Regions from separate parts of the Homo sapiens genome. Here region 2 is linked to region 1. The links are contacts of gene promoters, found by promoter capture Hi-C in human tissues and cell types (Jung and others, 2019). All regions are on one chromosome and are shown on one strand. The core of a region is centred on a gene start or on the middle of the fragment in contact, and the rest is flanking DNA. Distances in the headings are between cores, read along the strand shown. Region 1 holds the start of GREB1L (GREB1 like retinoic acid receptor coactivator). Region 2 overlaps GREB1L (GREB1 like retinoic acid receptor coactivator).

Region 1 (7,052 bases), core at 3,397-5,896:
CTCAAGTTTTGAGAAGCATTCCTAGTAAAATTCCAGCAAACTGTGATCACAATACTAACCACAAATCAGCTCTTCAAGGAAGATTGCATTTTCACTTAAATATCGTTTATATCTTAGTTAACAGCTACTTTTCTAAGAGTTAAATAATAATAATAGCTAATAAATATTACCATAGACTGAAAATACAAGAAAACTACAATTAGTTTGAAAAAAGTCTATTGGAAAATTTGGTTCACTATTCATTAGTGGTGTAACTGACCACCCCTATATGTCTAGCTTATGGTACAGCTCAAAATGACTGAGGTAATGAAATTTCCATCACTCAGTTTGGAAAACTATAGCAATATGGCGGAAAAAACTATCCCTCACTTTGTATAAGACTAAAGAAATGCAAAGCAAAAGAAAGGTATAAAATGTTACACTGATTAAATTAGTAACAATAATATGTTTTAAGATAACATAAGCACACACATAGATTGTTAATGACAGTATAAATTTATATAGTCCTTTTAGAAAGTAATGTGGAAATTACTGTAAATCTAGAAATTTCCTAATAAAAATAAGAGCTAACATTTATGTGTTTCATGTGTTATTGCTTTTTATCTTAACTTTAAAGAACTATTAATATAACCCATTTTACATCTTAGTAAGCTAAAGTTCTGAGAAAATAAATTACTTGTCCAATATTGCCAATGAGTACTAGAGCTAGGTTTAAACCCACAACCTCTAATTTTAGAACCCACCCATTTACAACTACATTATACTATCCCTCAAGAAAAAAAAGATCCTAAGGAAGTTAAGGGAAAAAGAAGAAAAGAAAAGAAATAAAGTTACATGTATAAGAATAGGCATTATAGGCCAGGCATGGTGGCTCACGCCTGTAATCCCAGCACTTTGGGAGGCTGAGGCGGGCAGATCACGAGGTCGAGATCGATGAGATCGAGACCATCCTGCAACACAGTGAAACCCCATCTCTACTAAAAATACAAAAAATTAGCCAGGCGTGGTGGCAGGCGCCTGTAGTCACAGCTGCTAGGGAGGCTGAGGCAGGAGAATGGCGTGAACCCGGAAGGCGGAGCTTGCAGTGAGTGGAGATCGCACCACTGCACTCCAGCCTGGGTGGCAAAGCAAGACTTCGTCTCAAACAAAACAAAACAAAACAAAACAAAACAAAACAAAAAAAGAATAGGCATTACATTTTTTATGCTGCAAAATCAAAAACAGGAAGGCTTAAGTTAATAATGAACATCCATTGCATAAACTTTTATAAAATTATTGTAAATAATGGGAAGTAAGCTATAGAAAAAATGTTTATAAAAAACAGGGTGAAAATTATCTGCAATATAAAACATTTGTAAAAATATTCATTCATATGGCAAGATTGGGAAGGGAGCTGGAAAAAATAAAAACCATTACCATTTTGAAGAATTTCACTACTGGTATTGAATTTTCTTTTGTTTCTGTCAGCTTCATTAATCAATCAATATTACTCTAAGTACCCTTACAAATATATTCTTCTAGTTCTTATTCTTAGGATCCCAAACAATTCCTACAGCGAATTTATAATTTATATTAGACTTATTCAAAATAATTACATATGTTTCATCAGCGGTGCTTTTAGAAAGCTTTAGCTTTCAGTATGAGATCTCTATCTTAACATCAACACTTTTTGCAATCATCGCTTACAGTGTACCTTTGAAATCCCTTAATTTAGACCATACGCAGTCACTAAAATCAGCTAATTTTTACTTTCACAACCTTACAATCACTCCTTAACTCCTGTCCCCATCATTAGCCCAAAGGCTGCAGGTACTTTACAAATTAGAAGTTTCCTAATAAGAACATACTCCCTAGGTGAATATTTATCAAGTAACTAAAATATCTTAGCTATAAGGGATGTTCATAATCTAAACACTTCAGAGAAGTATAAATTAAATTATGTCAAGTCTCTTTCAAGTAGGTAAAGTTAATTTCCACTTTACCAAAAAGAAGAGTTTGGTAAGAGTAATTTTCCTAAAAATGACACTGTGGGCTGCGAGGAGAATTCACTCTCCTTAGCCACACAAGGTGACATGAGAGGCCCTCAGCCCGGTGTTTGGCCTCTATCAGCAACATAAACACACATTCTGTGGGTAAGGAGAGTAGCTGTTCTCCAATGACATCAAACTCGTAAGAGCAGGGATATAGTTTAAACATCTCTAACCTCCTCTTCATGAATCCACCATTCAGGAATGTTTTTTGTCGCCCCACTGTCTAACATCCACAGTCCAATGGTTATCTTTAGCCAGTTTTAGGACAACTATTTTAATCGTAGAACTCTGGAGTTCGAAGGACCCTTAAAAATCACATAGTTCAATTCCTTTATCTAACTGAGTGGGAAACAAAGTTTTCCAAAAAAAAGTTACGTCGTGTGGCGGGTTTGTGGCAAATCCAGGCCTAGAATTAAGAGATGCAACCAAACATCTGAAACTCGGCCTTCGTATTTATCCTTTACCACTAACATCTTTATATTATGTCATGTCAATGGGAGTATACACACGCCCTTTCAGTGTTTTCAGATACACACTGCGGTAGACAAAGTAAACTACTACAGTTCTCATTCTCTACTTCATAAAGAATTCCAAAATGGAGGAAAAATTCAATAAAGATTGCAAAAACCAGTGTAGGGAAACTGGTGTGTGTGCAGGAGGAGATATTAGTTTAATAGTTTTGCTTTCCACTGCATACTGTTCTAAGATTTTTAGCCCTCTAACTGATCTTCAAGGTAATAATTGTCCACATTTGGCTAAATAATCTCATGTCATCATGAGTGGGTATCAAGTTAATGGTCATCACCACGAATATATAGTTCAGTCTTATATTCAATCCCTTTCATCATCTATAATGTAATTCCATTTTAATAGACTTACGGAAAGATATACAAAAAATATACAACAGTGGCTGCCTCTGAGAAGGATGAAGGCTTGTATGGAGGAGAGGAAAGAGGGCTTAATTTACACTGTATACTCTTCACTGTTGTTTGAAATGTTTACCCTACTTATATATTCATTCATTAAACATTTTCCTCTTGAAATACATACCTATATGCATGTAACTGTATTACTAAATATTTCAACAATTTAATTTTTTCTCTTTTAAATAATTTTTCAGTATCATTCACAAAACCTCCTAGAAAATTTCAGCAAAGAGAAGAAACAACACAGTCACAACACTCAAAGCAGAGTTCCAGGATTTAAAGTCTAAGAACATATATAGATGAATGAGAGGTTTTATTAAGGGGGACTGAGTTCAAAAACCTTTTGTGGGAAAGCTCTTCCCTGTATTTAAACGGCTAGGTTTAAAAATGTGATTTAAGCAGGGATTCCCGCCTCGAGGCGGGGGGAGGCGGAAAAAAACACCTTACGGTGTGAAAAGCAGAAATTAAAATGTGGTTTCTATCCTCTCAGCCGGGGCCAGAGGAGTGGGTGGGGAGGATAAGGACCTTGGAACCGTCACGTTCACCGGAGAAAGGGGCAAGACTGAGGAGTTTCTCCAGGACCCGCAGCCTCGGTTAGAGGCAGCGGCAGTTCCGGGCAAACGAGTCGCGTTCGGGGACGTTCCTTGGACTCATGTAACTGAGAAACCCCACGCACTGAATCTCCACATGGAGTTTCCTCTTAATGGAGCTGGGAAGAGGGACGGCGGGAATGGATTTCCTTTAACGAGTCTCCCTCACCCTCCCCGGCCAGGGCGCACCTCACTCGCTGTCTGCTTGTGTCAGGGTCAGCTGTCAACACAACTCTTTGTGTCTCATTCGGAATAAGAGTGGTCCTCAGCCATGCACAGAAAAATGGACATGCTGGCCGGAAGACACGCGCGCCCGCTCGTGACGAAGTGACATTTGGTGTTGAGGAAAAAAACCCACAGACGCCGAGCGAGCGCCCAGCCACCTCTGGACGTTCTCAACTTTCCCAGGCTGAACTCCATCCATCCTCTCCCCGCCACCTCCGCGGCGCCCTACCTGTCGCCCGCCCGCCTGCCCGGCACCCCCTCACTGCCCCTGGGCTCGGGGAGACGAACCAGGTGCCCCCTCGCCGCCTCCGCCGGGGGACCCCGCGCTACTCGGCGCGCCGCAGCTCCCTCGTCCCACCCCCGGGCCGTCTCGCTCCCGCCACAAAGGCAGCGAGTAGAGCCCGGTGACAGGCCTTCGGCCTCTGGGCGCGGACAGCACGGCCGGGTCCCTTCGGTGGGCGACGCGAGGCGGCAGGGAAGGCAGGCACGGCTCCCAGGTTGGCACTGGCGCTCCCTCGCCACCCGCACGCGCTCCGCTCACACCCCCGCTGAGCTTCCCATCCCTCCGGAAAAGTCCGCTGCGGCGCTTCCCCGCGCGGCCAGGGCGTCCAGCCCGCCAAAGGGCAGCTCCTGCCGGTCACAGGCGAGCTCCCGCGCCCGGTTCGCGACCTCTCACCTCCTGCCCGCGCCCCGGAGTCCCCGCGGCCGCTCACCTGGCCCTAGCGGGGCGCGAGGGCAGAGGACCAGGGGGTGGCCCTCGGCTCGGCCGGGCTGGTCTCCCCACCCCCAGTGCCGTTCCCTGCGCCGCGCTGCGCTCCGCTGCTCCGGCCGCCCGACTCCGAGGTGCTAGCGCCGCCGGCGGCTGGCGTCTCTCTGGCAGGCGCGCGGTCCGCGCGCTCAGTTCCCCGGGGCGGAGCGAGGCGGCGGCCGCCGCAGCCGGAGGCGGATTCCTCAGGTGCTGCCCCTCCCGCCCGCCCTGGCCTCCGCAGCGGGGACCCCCGCGCCCCCTCCCCCCGCCCCGCCTCGCGCCTTCCCGCTGCCTCGGCGTCCGCGAGTGGCTTTTGGGGGTCCCTCGCCCTCTGTGAGGGTGGTGGGCGCGCATTTCTCCCCTACCCCCCTCCAACGACGCCCCCCGCCCAGCCTGTGGAGCCCTCGATGCGCGGTCCTCACGCCTCCATTCCCAAACCCCGCCGCACAGACGAACGCGCAGCCCCGCGGGGGTGTACAGGGGGTCGTGCGGGGGGGGGGTCTTCTGTGAGGGAGGGCTGCACCCCAGTGTGCTGACGCGCGAAGCCAGGAGGAAAAATTATTTCCCCTGGAGCCCGCGTTCATTCAGCCTGCTCTCGCCTCTGCGCAATTGCTTTCTCTGTTCACTGGACGGCGGCTGAAGAGCCCCAAGCGTGAACTCGGCCTGGGCAGTGGTGGCTCGGAAACCCTTGGCCTTTTGCATGAAGGGGGTAGGGTGGGGGCAGGGCGCGGACAAAACCAAACAAACCCGGGAGCTCCGGGCCCAAGCCGACTTTTGCACCTCCCGGAGGAGCACGCCCTCCGGCCCCGGGCCCCGGCTCGTCGGTAGCCTCCCGGGACCACGGGGACGGCTCCACCCCAGGGCAGCCGCGTCCAGCTGGCCCTGGGCCTTGACGGGTGCTGCGGGGAAAAGGTTCTTGAGAGATGCTGCGGCCCGGTAGAGAGATTTAGCTCCACTTTTCACAGCTGGAGGCTTTTGTTATTAGAGATGCGGCTCCATTTTTAAAACTAATTGTTGCCACAGATAGGCGACTACATCTCTGGAAGCAGCAGCTCCATGCTGGATGTGGTGGAAGAATCGAGGTAAGGAAAGGCTGATGTATTTTGAGTGCCTTTAGTGCAGTACAGCCCGGGGGAGCTCCCCGTGTGCGTGGGAGTGGGGAGGCAGCCGCGGCGCCCAGGCCCGGGTGGGTTGGAATCATTGTCAAGTGATAGGTACCATTTAAAGACATTGTCAATTAAACTAGTTCTCATACGATGTCCCAGTACTTTTGTTTGCTTGTCTTGCATTTTTCTTTTTTGCCATATCCGAAATACATTTTTTTCTTTCCTGTCACTTTTGATCCATGCAGAGGGAATGGACTGGAAGTTTGGAATCACCGGAAAATAACAAGGCATAGCTAAGCTGTGACTAGCAAGATAAACGATTTGTTCGAGGTTTGATTGTCCTTTCCCTCCTCCACTCGGAAGACATAGTTGTCTTTTTTTAAATCATGTTTTGTACCGAAATATTTTTATTTTATAATTGAATCCCTGTTGTTGGGCCTTTAAAAACCCATAGAAACATTGTTATGTGCCACGAAGGTGGGAAACACGGCTTTCTCAGTCATTGCTGTACTCCCACAATTCTGGGTCATGCACACAATACAGGTTTAGTAAATAAAATCCGTATGTTTTTGGCCCCACGCGGTGGCTCATGTCTGTAGTCCCAGCGCTTTTAGCCTGGGTGACAGAGACCCTGACTCAAGAGTGTGTGTGTGTGTGTGTGTGTGTGTGTGTGTGCGCGCGCGCGCGCGGGCGGGCTTTAAAATAACTACAACAGAAAGGTGCAGATGATTAGCAATAGCTAAAAGAATCCAAAGTCACTTAGTAAACTCATCATGAGAACTGGCCATACACGTGGAAAAGACAGTGCTGTAGAAACTGAAATTTTAAGTTCACCTGGTGAATATAAACTAAGCTCATAGAAGTTAAAGCAGGTGAGAATCTTTTGAAAAACTCAACCCATCACAAGGTCTGTAGAGTGTGTGGGGGTTGGGCAGAAGCAAAACACCTTCCAATTTAAAGATAAGGACACTGAACAAGGAGCCGCTTTAAAGTAAAACCACCAGTGCAGTTTTCTCTCTTAGTGCAAGGACCATTTGTTGAGTGCCAGGTACACTAGACCCTAGAAATGTGAAAGCAAATCTGGCAGTCACTCAAGGACCATAGTCTAATATTACAGGACTCTGGTATTCATTCTTCATCCATTCAACAGATATTGAGCACCTAATGTGAGTTAGACGGCACAATATATCAGTAGTAGTGGTGATTTGTCAGTAAACAAGGCAAGTCCCTAACAAGGGTAAAAGTGAGAGTAATCTATATATCCTGGTAGATTGAAAAGAGTTCAATGCCATCTTCATTAGATAACAAACTCCCAGCCGGGTACAGTGTCTCACGCCTGTAATCCCAGCCCTTTGGAGGCCAAGGCAGGTGGAACACTTGAGGTCAGGAGTTCGAGACCAGCCTGACCAACATGGTGAAACCCCATC
Region 2 (7,059 bases), core at 2,555-5,054, 250 kb before region 1:
GAACCTATTAAGTATCAATTTTTCATATAAACACACATATACATAGACATACATATCTTTAATAAATGGAACACCAATCTTGAAAACATAAACATATCAATGAAAAGTAATCCCGCCAATTTGAAAAATATTCAAAAGTAAAATGATCTTACAGATGTGTCTATTTTAGAACAGAAAGAAAAATAACCATCTCTTAAGTAGATAAGGTGGTTTCTACTGCTTTTCATTAAGTGTGTAGCATGTACCTATACTTTTTACTACCTTTCTAGCAGGAGTTATTATAAGCAATGAACTGACATTTCTGATAACGTTTTAGGGGAACAGACTAAGAAGCAAGGTGTTAAGTAATACATACAATTTTTTTTTTTTTTAGACAGAGTCTTGCTCTGTTGCCCAGGCTGGAGTGCCGTGGACAGGTGTGAGCTACCATACCTGGCCAGTAATGCATACAATTTTGTTTTAAAATAGACTGGTACTTCCTTTGCTAAGCACAAAATAGGATAAAAAGAAAGTCACCAAGCAAAAGACAATAGGGTTTGATTGGTGATTTGCTAATGCCTAGAAAAGGCTCAATAAAGAAAAGGCTCAATAAAGAAAAGCCAGTCTTTAGAAATAAACATTCCCACAATCACTTCAAATAAAATTTCTATAATTTGTAAAACTGGAAGAAGCTTAACCATTCTTAGGCTTTTACTTGTTGTCCAATCTTTTATTATATATGTGCATACTAAGGGGAAATAGGGAATCTACGTAACTGTTCACAAGTTTCACAGACTTCCCGTGTTTTAGAAAAATCAATGTGTCAAAAAGATTTTTTTAATGCTAGAAGAAAAATTCTCTGTAAAAATTTAATTTTCCATACCATTTCATGTCAGGGGGAACCATAACATTGTCTCATTTAAAGCAAACCATTCTGGAATAGAAATCACTTTACTGATCACATTCACACTGGACGCATGGTATCCCTGACACTGGGTTTCTCCCTGAATGTGTTTTATCTCCCAGAACTGTCTCTATAGAGGTCATAGCTTTACCAGGAAGAGGTCAGGTTTATATTGATGGAATAAGAGTTAAAATGTTTTACTGTATGAGGACTTTTTTTTTTTTTTTTTTTTTTTTTTTTGAGACAGGGTCTCACTCTGTCACCCAGGCTGGAGTACAGTGGTGCAATCTTGGCTCATGGCGACCTCCACCTCCCGGGTTCAAGCGAATCTCCTGCCTCAGCCTCCTGAGTAGCTGCGATTACAGGCACCCACCACCACACCTGGCTAATTTTTGTATTTTTAGTAGAGATGGGGTTTCGCCATATTGGCCAGGCTGGTCTTGAACTCCTGACCTCAAGCGACTGCCCGCCTCAGTCTCCCAAAGTGCTGGGATTATAGGCGTGAGCCACTGCACCTGGCCTATATGAGGATGTTTATTTTCAGATTAGTAGTCAAATCTCACTTTTACTCTTGACCAACCACAGCTAGCCAAACCCACTATAAAATGCTTTTCCATCACATTGCTCCTTCTGATGACTGATGGCTGCAGTTCTCCTGTGCATCAATCAGGCCCTCAAGATGACATTGCAGAAGCACTTAACACAAAAGATGGGGTGATCATTGAGTTCAAGGATAATACAAGGCTTAAGAACAAGGACATCTAATGAAAGCTTCACCTGCCTTCTGGAGGAACTGACTTAAACTTTGTATCCTTCCAAAGGGGTCATCATCAGTATAAGTTAACCACAATACATAACAGGATAATTAGGGGTAAGCACAAAAATAAGATCACATAATAGAAGTAGTGTTGGATTTTACCCAAAAGTAGAGATAGAAGGCACAATCTTGCCATCCTGAAAATGGTGAAGGAGGTTGATAACTTAGAAATAAATGAGTGAGCCGCAATCTACTTGACAATTCAGTCTTGCTTACGATGTGAACATCCCAACATGATCTCATATTTTTACTCCCACACAAATACAGAGTATAAAAAGGACTGATGTGATCCAGTGATTTTGAGAATTTGGGACTTGTTTATTTTTATATATTTTTAAGAGACAGGGTCTCACTCTGTTGCACAGGCTGGAGTGCAGTGGTGGGATCATAGCTCACTGCAGCCTCAAACTCCTGGGCTCAAGCAAACCTCCTGCCTCAGGCTCCCAAGTAGCTGGGACTACAGGCATGAGCCATCACAGCAGCCAGAATATGGGACACTCTTATACGTACTTGTTGCCTGGCAGCTACTCATACCAATTGAGGAAGATGTCACTGCCTTGAGAAGTCGTAACTTGAGGCCCCCTTCGTTTAGGGCACAGTGATTGTCAACTAATGTGCCTCTGAAAGCCCTGCAGGTGATTCTGATGAGCTAGCAGCCAGGTGAAGAACCTCAGGCCTTGACTGTGGTTTTCCAACAGTGGTCCAGAGGGGTAAATTATTTAGGACAGACTGATTTATACTGACTTAGTGACTGGCCCTTCTGAACACATGATTAAGACTCTCTAAGTAGCTTCACTTAATCAGTGTCAACAGAGACCAGGAGAAGACCCAGCAGCCTCACGTGCATTTAGGTCATCTCTGGCAACAGATGTGGGAGACTTAGCATGGTGCTGCTGATTGTCCGCCTTTCCAAATTCTTTTTCTTTTTCTTTCTTTTTTTTTTGAGACAGAGTCTTGCTCTGTCGCCCAGGCTGGAGTGTAGTGGCACAATCTCGGCTCACTACAAGCTCCGCCTCCCGGGTTCACGCCATTCTCCTGCCTCAGCCTCCCGAGTAGCTGGGACCACAGGCGCCCGCCACCATGCCTGGCTAATTTTTTGTATTTTTAGTAGAGACAGGGTTTCACCGTGTTAGCCAGGGTGGTCTTGATCTCCTGACCTTGTGATCCGCCCGCCTCGGCCTCCCAAAGTGCTGGGATTACAGGCATGAGCTACCGTGCCCAGCCTCCAAATTCTTCATCATTAGCAATATTCAAATGGTCTCAAGCCCGTAATTCATGTCTCCATGAATTATACTGTAAGAAGCGTTTCCGGAGTTTTGTTATTCATCCTAGGAATTCCACTGTAATGTAGTCTATGACTATAACATAAAATTGTGAACGTGTATCTATATATGAAACATAAATGTTACAACTTCTAAATTTAGGAGTTTCTATTTTTTGGACAATTTTATTTGTTCCAATTGCTTATTAAGCTAATACAAGATATTTTGTCTGCATTTTGGATTATTCAATTTAGGTTAGCTAACTGAACACAAGAAGAAGATTTACATCTCCAGAACAATTTTTTTTTTTTTTTGAGACAGAGTCTCGCTCTGTCGCCCAGGCTGGAGTGCAGTGGTGCGATCTTGGCTCACTGCAAGCTCCGCCTCCTGGGTTCACACCATTCTCCTGCCTCAGCCTCCTGAGTAGCTGGGAATACAGGCACCCGCCACCACACCTGGCTAATTTTTTTTTTGTATTTTTAGTAAAAACGGGGTTTCACCATGTTAGCCAGGATGGTCTTGATCTCCTGACCTCCTGATCTGTCTGCCTCAGCCTCCCAAAGTGCTGGGATTACAGGCATGAGCCACTGCGCCCAGCCCAGAACAATTTTTGAACACTAAATAATCATCCCCAAATTAGAACTCTTAGAGATTATACAACCCAATTCTCTCATTTTGCAGATGGGAAACCGCAGCCCAGGGTGAAAATGCAAATTCCCCCATGACTATGTGCCTTCTTTTCATAAAATTTGTGCTGAACCAGATTTTCCTTAACCCAATTTAGCTCAGCATTTAATGTATAGGGCGCAGAAACAAGTTGGTCTAACTCAGACATACAGTAGCTAGCTCAGTTCCATACCGACATGTAGGTGGATATTTGATTAAATGCTTTCTAATGGCTAGGCCCCACTGGATTACAGGCCCAGAAAAACCGAGTCAGGCATAAGGTAGGGAGTTAGGTTAGTTGGCTGAGGGTTCTACTCCTCCCACCCTGATGCTTGACAGGAGAGGAAGGGGAGAAGCAGTCAATCACTGGCCGTGCAGAGGGAGCAGTGAGGGACTCAGTCATGCACTAAATTCTTCTGTAGGGCGCCTGGCAAAGTCTCAGTCCAGCCAAAGCCTTGGGGCTGAGGGTCAAAGCAAGTAAAAAGAAACAACAAACTGCTGAGGAATCCACATGCAAGAGGGCTAGGAACAGTTCTGAGTACTGAAGATGAAACAGAATACTTTACCGACTCTAGACATGAGCTCACAGAGAGGCTAGATGAACAGAAAAGAATTAGTGAGTTGAGGATACTTAAAACATTACCCCACAGAGGTCTGAGAGGATAACTTACCTTTTTTTCTCAGAAAACAGATGGCCATGGGCTACATGCATCTTGAACAAGGCCAATAAACATGGGGTCAAATTGGGTCATCTCATTTTTTTGCACCTGCAGTTGGAGAGCATGGAAGACCAACTGCATGCACTAACTGCATGCTATAAAGGGCTGGGCAATCTTTACAAACTGGTTCTAATTAAGAAAGTGAATATGTCCCTTAATTTAGCCTTATCATTGTCATGGAATCACACATGTGATTCTATTAAACTCAGGCCCCTGAGCCACCTATGTAGGATTCCTAGAAAAGAGAAACAAATGGTATTTTAAAGGAGAAATGTCTGTCCATTGCTAACCTTTAATCGCGCCACAAAGTGAGTTGCAACACTGAGTTCGGTGGCCGGGTTCCCAAGGATGATCTCAAACCGATACTGCAGACCCAGTTTGTCGCGCACCTCCTGTAGCCGCTCCTTGGCTAACATCGCCAGCTGCACCGAGGGCACCCTGATAATGAGCATGTGTCCCCTCCCACTTTTGTTTTTGCCTGGGGAGCTGATGAGGTCATCCATAATGCTGAGTGTTTCTGGTGTGCTGTGGTCGCGGAGTGACGCCATGGTGGTGAGAGCCATCAGGGCCTCAGAGTACTGCTGGATGAGAAGATAGCAGCGGACGACCATGCTGTGCAGCCTGGGGTACCTTCAACAGAAAACAAGGCACTAGCACTCAGGCAGCAGGGCCAGCTGGGAGCAGCAAGGCCTGTGCAGTAAGAATGCAGATTAAGCATGGTGGGGAAGGGGCTACTGATCAGTGTGGTGGGGCTTTAGTTCTAGAATGACCTGGGATCCTACATCACTGGAAGGAAAAGGTTGAGCTTCCAAAGCATGTGAATCAACCTGTTGGGATAAGTACAGCACAGTAAAGGGGTTTAGAGATTGTCTAGAAACCTCTTCTCAAAGTATGGTCTACAGACCACCAGCAGCAGCAGCACCTGGGAGCTTGTTAGAAATGCTCAATCTCCCCACCCCAGACCTACTAATCAGAATCTGAAGCTTAACAAGACTCCCAGGGAATTGCATGCACGTTAAATTCTGAGACACGCTGGTCTATTCCATTCATTGCCAGCATAGTCATCATGGATAATTCCTGGATCCTCACCTCTTGCTGGTGGTATTGGGTTAGAATGGCAGCACTGTCCACTTATTTCTCTGATATATAAGATTACAATACAGGAAACTGAGGCATTAATGTAATATCTGTCGAGTATTAGACATAAAAAGGGTAATTATTACTACTAATCTGAGGTCAGCCTCACAGATAGCAATTTCTATCTTTCCATAAACTGTTCCTTGGTGCTGGAGAAACTTGGAGCTGACTGGAGAAATAGCACCCCCTAGTGTTGTAGCCTCATCACCTGAGACCTGGCTCCGTCAAGGGAGCCAAGCAAATCTGAGCCTGGTAGCAGCAGCAGCCTTTGGTACCATTTTCCCCTAAGCCTGGACTGCCAGGGAAGAGGATCCCTTTGTTAAAATCGGCAGTTTTTACAATTATAGGAGGTAGAAAACAAATCTCTCCTTTTGGTGCTACGCCTCAGCCAGGCCTGATGACAAAATGAGTACGAATGGGCAAAGAGGACCCAGTTACAGGCATGAAGAGCTGCTAGTCAAGAAAGCAGGTGCTTGGCTACCCTGAGCACACTGCCCAGCAGTACTTCTGCTGCTGAATAAAAATAAAATTTTTTAAAAAAGAAAGTAGGCTGGGCGCGGTGGCTCATGCCTATAATCCCAGCACTTTGGGAGGACGAGGTGGGTGGATCACTTGAGATCAGGAGTTCGAGACCAGCCTAGCCAACATGGTGAAACCCCATCTCTACTAAAAATATAAAAATTAGCTGGGTGTGGTGGCGGGCGCCTGTAATCCCAGCTACTTGGGAGGCTGAGGCAGGACAATCACTTGAACCTGGGAGGTGGAGGTTACAGTGAGCCGAGATCATGCCATTGCACTCCAGCCTGGGCGACGGAGTGAGAGTCTGTCTTAAAAATATAAAAAAGAGAAAAAGAAAGAAAGTAGGTGCTGGCAAAGTGGGCTCTGGGTCCAAGGTTGGCCAATGCTCTCATGGAGCCTGGTAGAATAAGGCTGGGGCTGTGCACTTTCTTTCTGGTTGCCATTTGGTAGCAATGCAGCCACCAGCAGCTGGGTAGGCTAATGGGGGATTTCACCTTTGTTCCATTCTATAATTCTACTTAAAATACAACAAGTGGTCCACTGGCCTTGCACAGAAAACCTCCAGGTCAAAGAAATGCCAATGACAGCTATCAAATGAATAACACATGAACACTTTTGAGGTGTTTTAGAACTGGAAAGGACCAAGATGCCCTGTATATGAACAACTCTGCCTTTTCTTTTTCTTTTTTCGAGACAGAGTCCCGCTCTGTCACCCAGGCTGGAGTGCAGTAGTGCAATCTTGGCTCACTGCAACCTTCGCTTCCCGGGTTCAAGCAATTCTCCTGCCTCAGCCTCCTGAGTAGCTGGGATTACAGGCATGCGCCCAGCTAATTTTGTATTTTTAGTAGAGACAGGGTTTCTCCATGTTGATCAGGCTGGTCTCAAACTCCTGACCTCAGGTGATCCGCCCACCTCAGCCTCCCAAAGTGCTGGGATTACAGGTGTAAGCCACTGCACCCGGTCTTTTTTTTTTTTGAGATGGAGTCTCACTCTGTCGCTCGGACTGGAGTGCAATGGCGCAATCTCAGCTCACTGCAACCTCCGCCTCCCAGGTTC

The links. The method cuts DNA at HindIII sites, captures the fragments that hold promoters and counts their contacts. A contact is called where the count stands out against the background at its distance.
Region 2: a contact is called between a fragment that was not itself captured here and the fragment with the promoter of GREB1L in region 1, in 1 of the 25 tissues and cell types used here (IMR-90 fibroblasts).

What each region holds. Positions count from the first base shown.
Region 1 is chr18:21,239,826-21,246,877 of GRCh38, reverse strand. It overlaps GREB1L (GREB1 like retinoic acid receptor coactivator), which reads right to left and starts at 4,646. Exons shown (of 33, transcript NM_001142966.3): 1 at 4,485-4,646. GREB1L-DT (GREB1L divergent transcript) reads left to right here and starts at 4,150. Exons shown (of 3, transcript NR_183513.1): 1 at 4,150-4,268; 2 at 5,543-5,601; 3 at 5,871-6,203. The HindIII fragment of the contact is 24,686 bases long and covers 1-7,052 here.
Region 2 is chr18:21,487,930-21,494,988 of GRCh38, reverse strand. GREB1L (GREB1 like retinoic acid receptor coactivator) reads right to left here. Exons shown (of 33, transcript NM_001142966.3): 19 at 4,638-4,977. Among named protein-coding and RNA genes, the nearest start is that of GREB1L-AS1, 40 kb to the right of the region's middle. The HindIII fragment of the contact is 5,281 bases long and covers 1,164-6,444 here.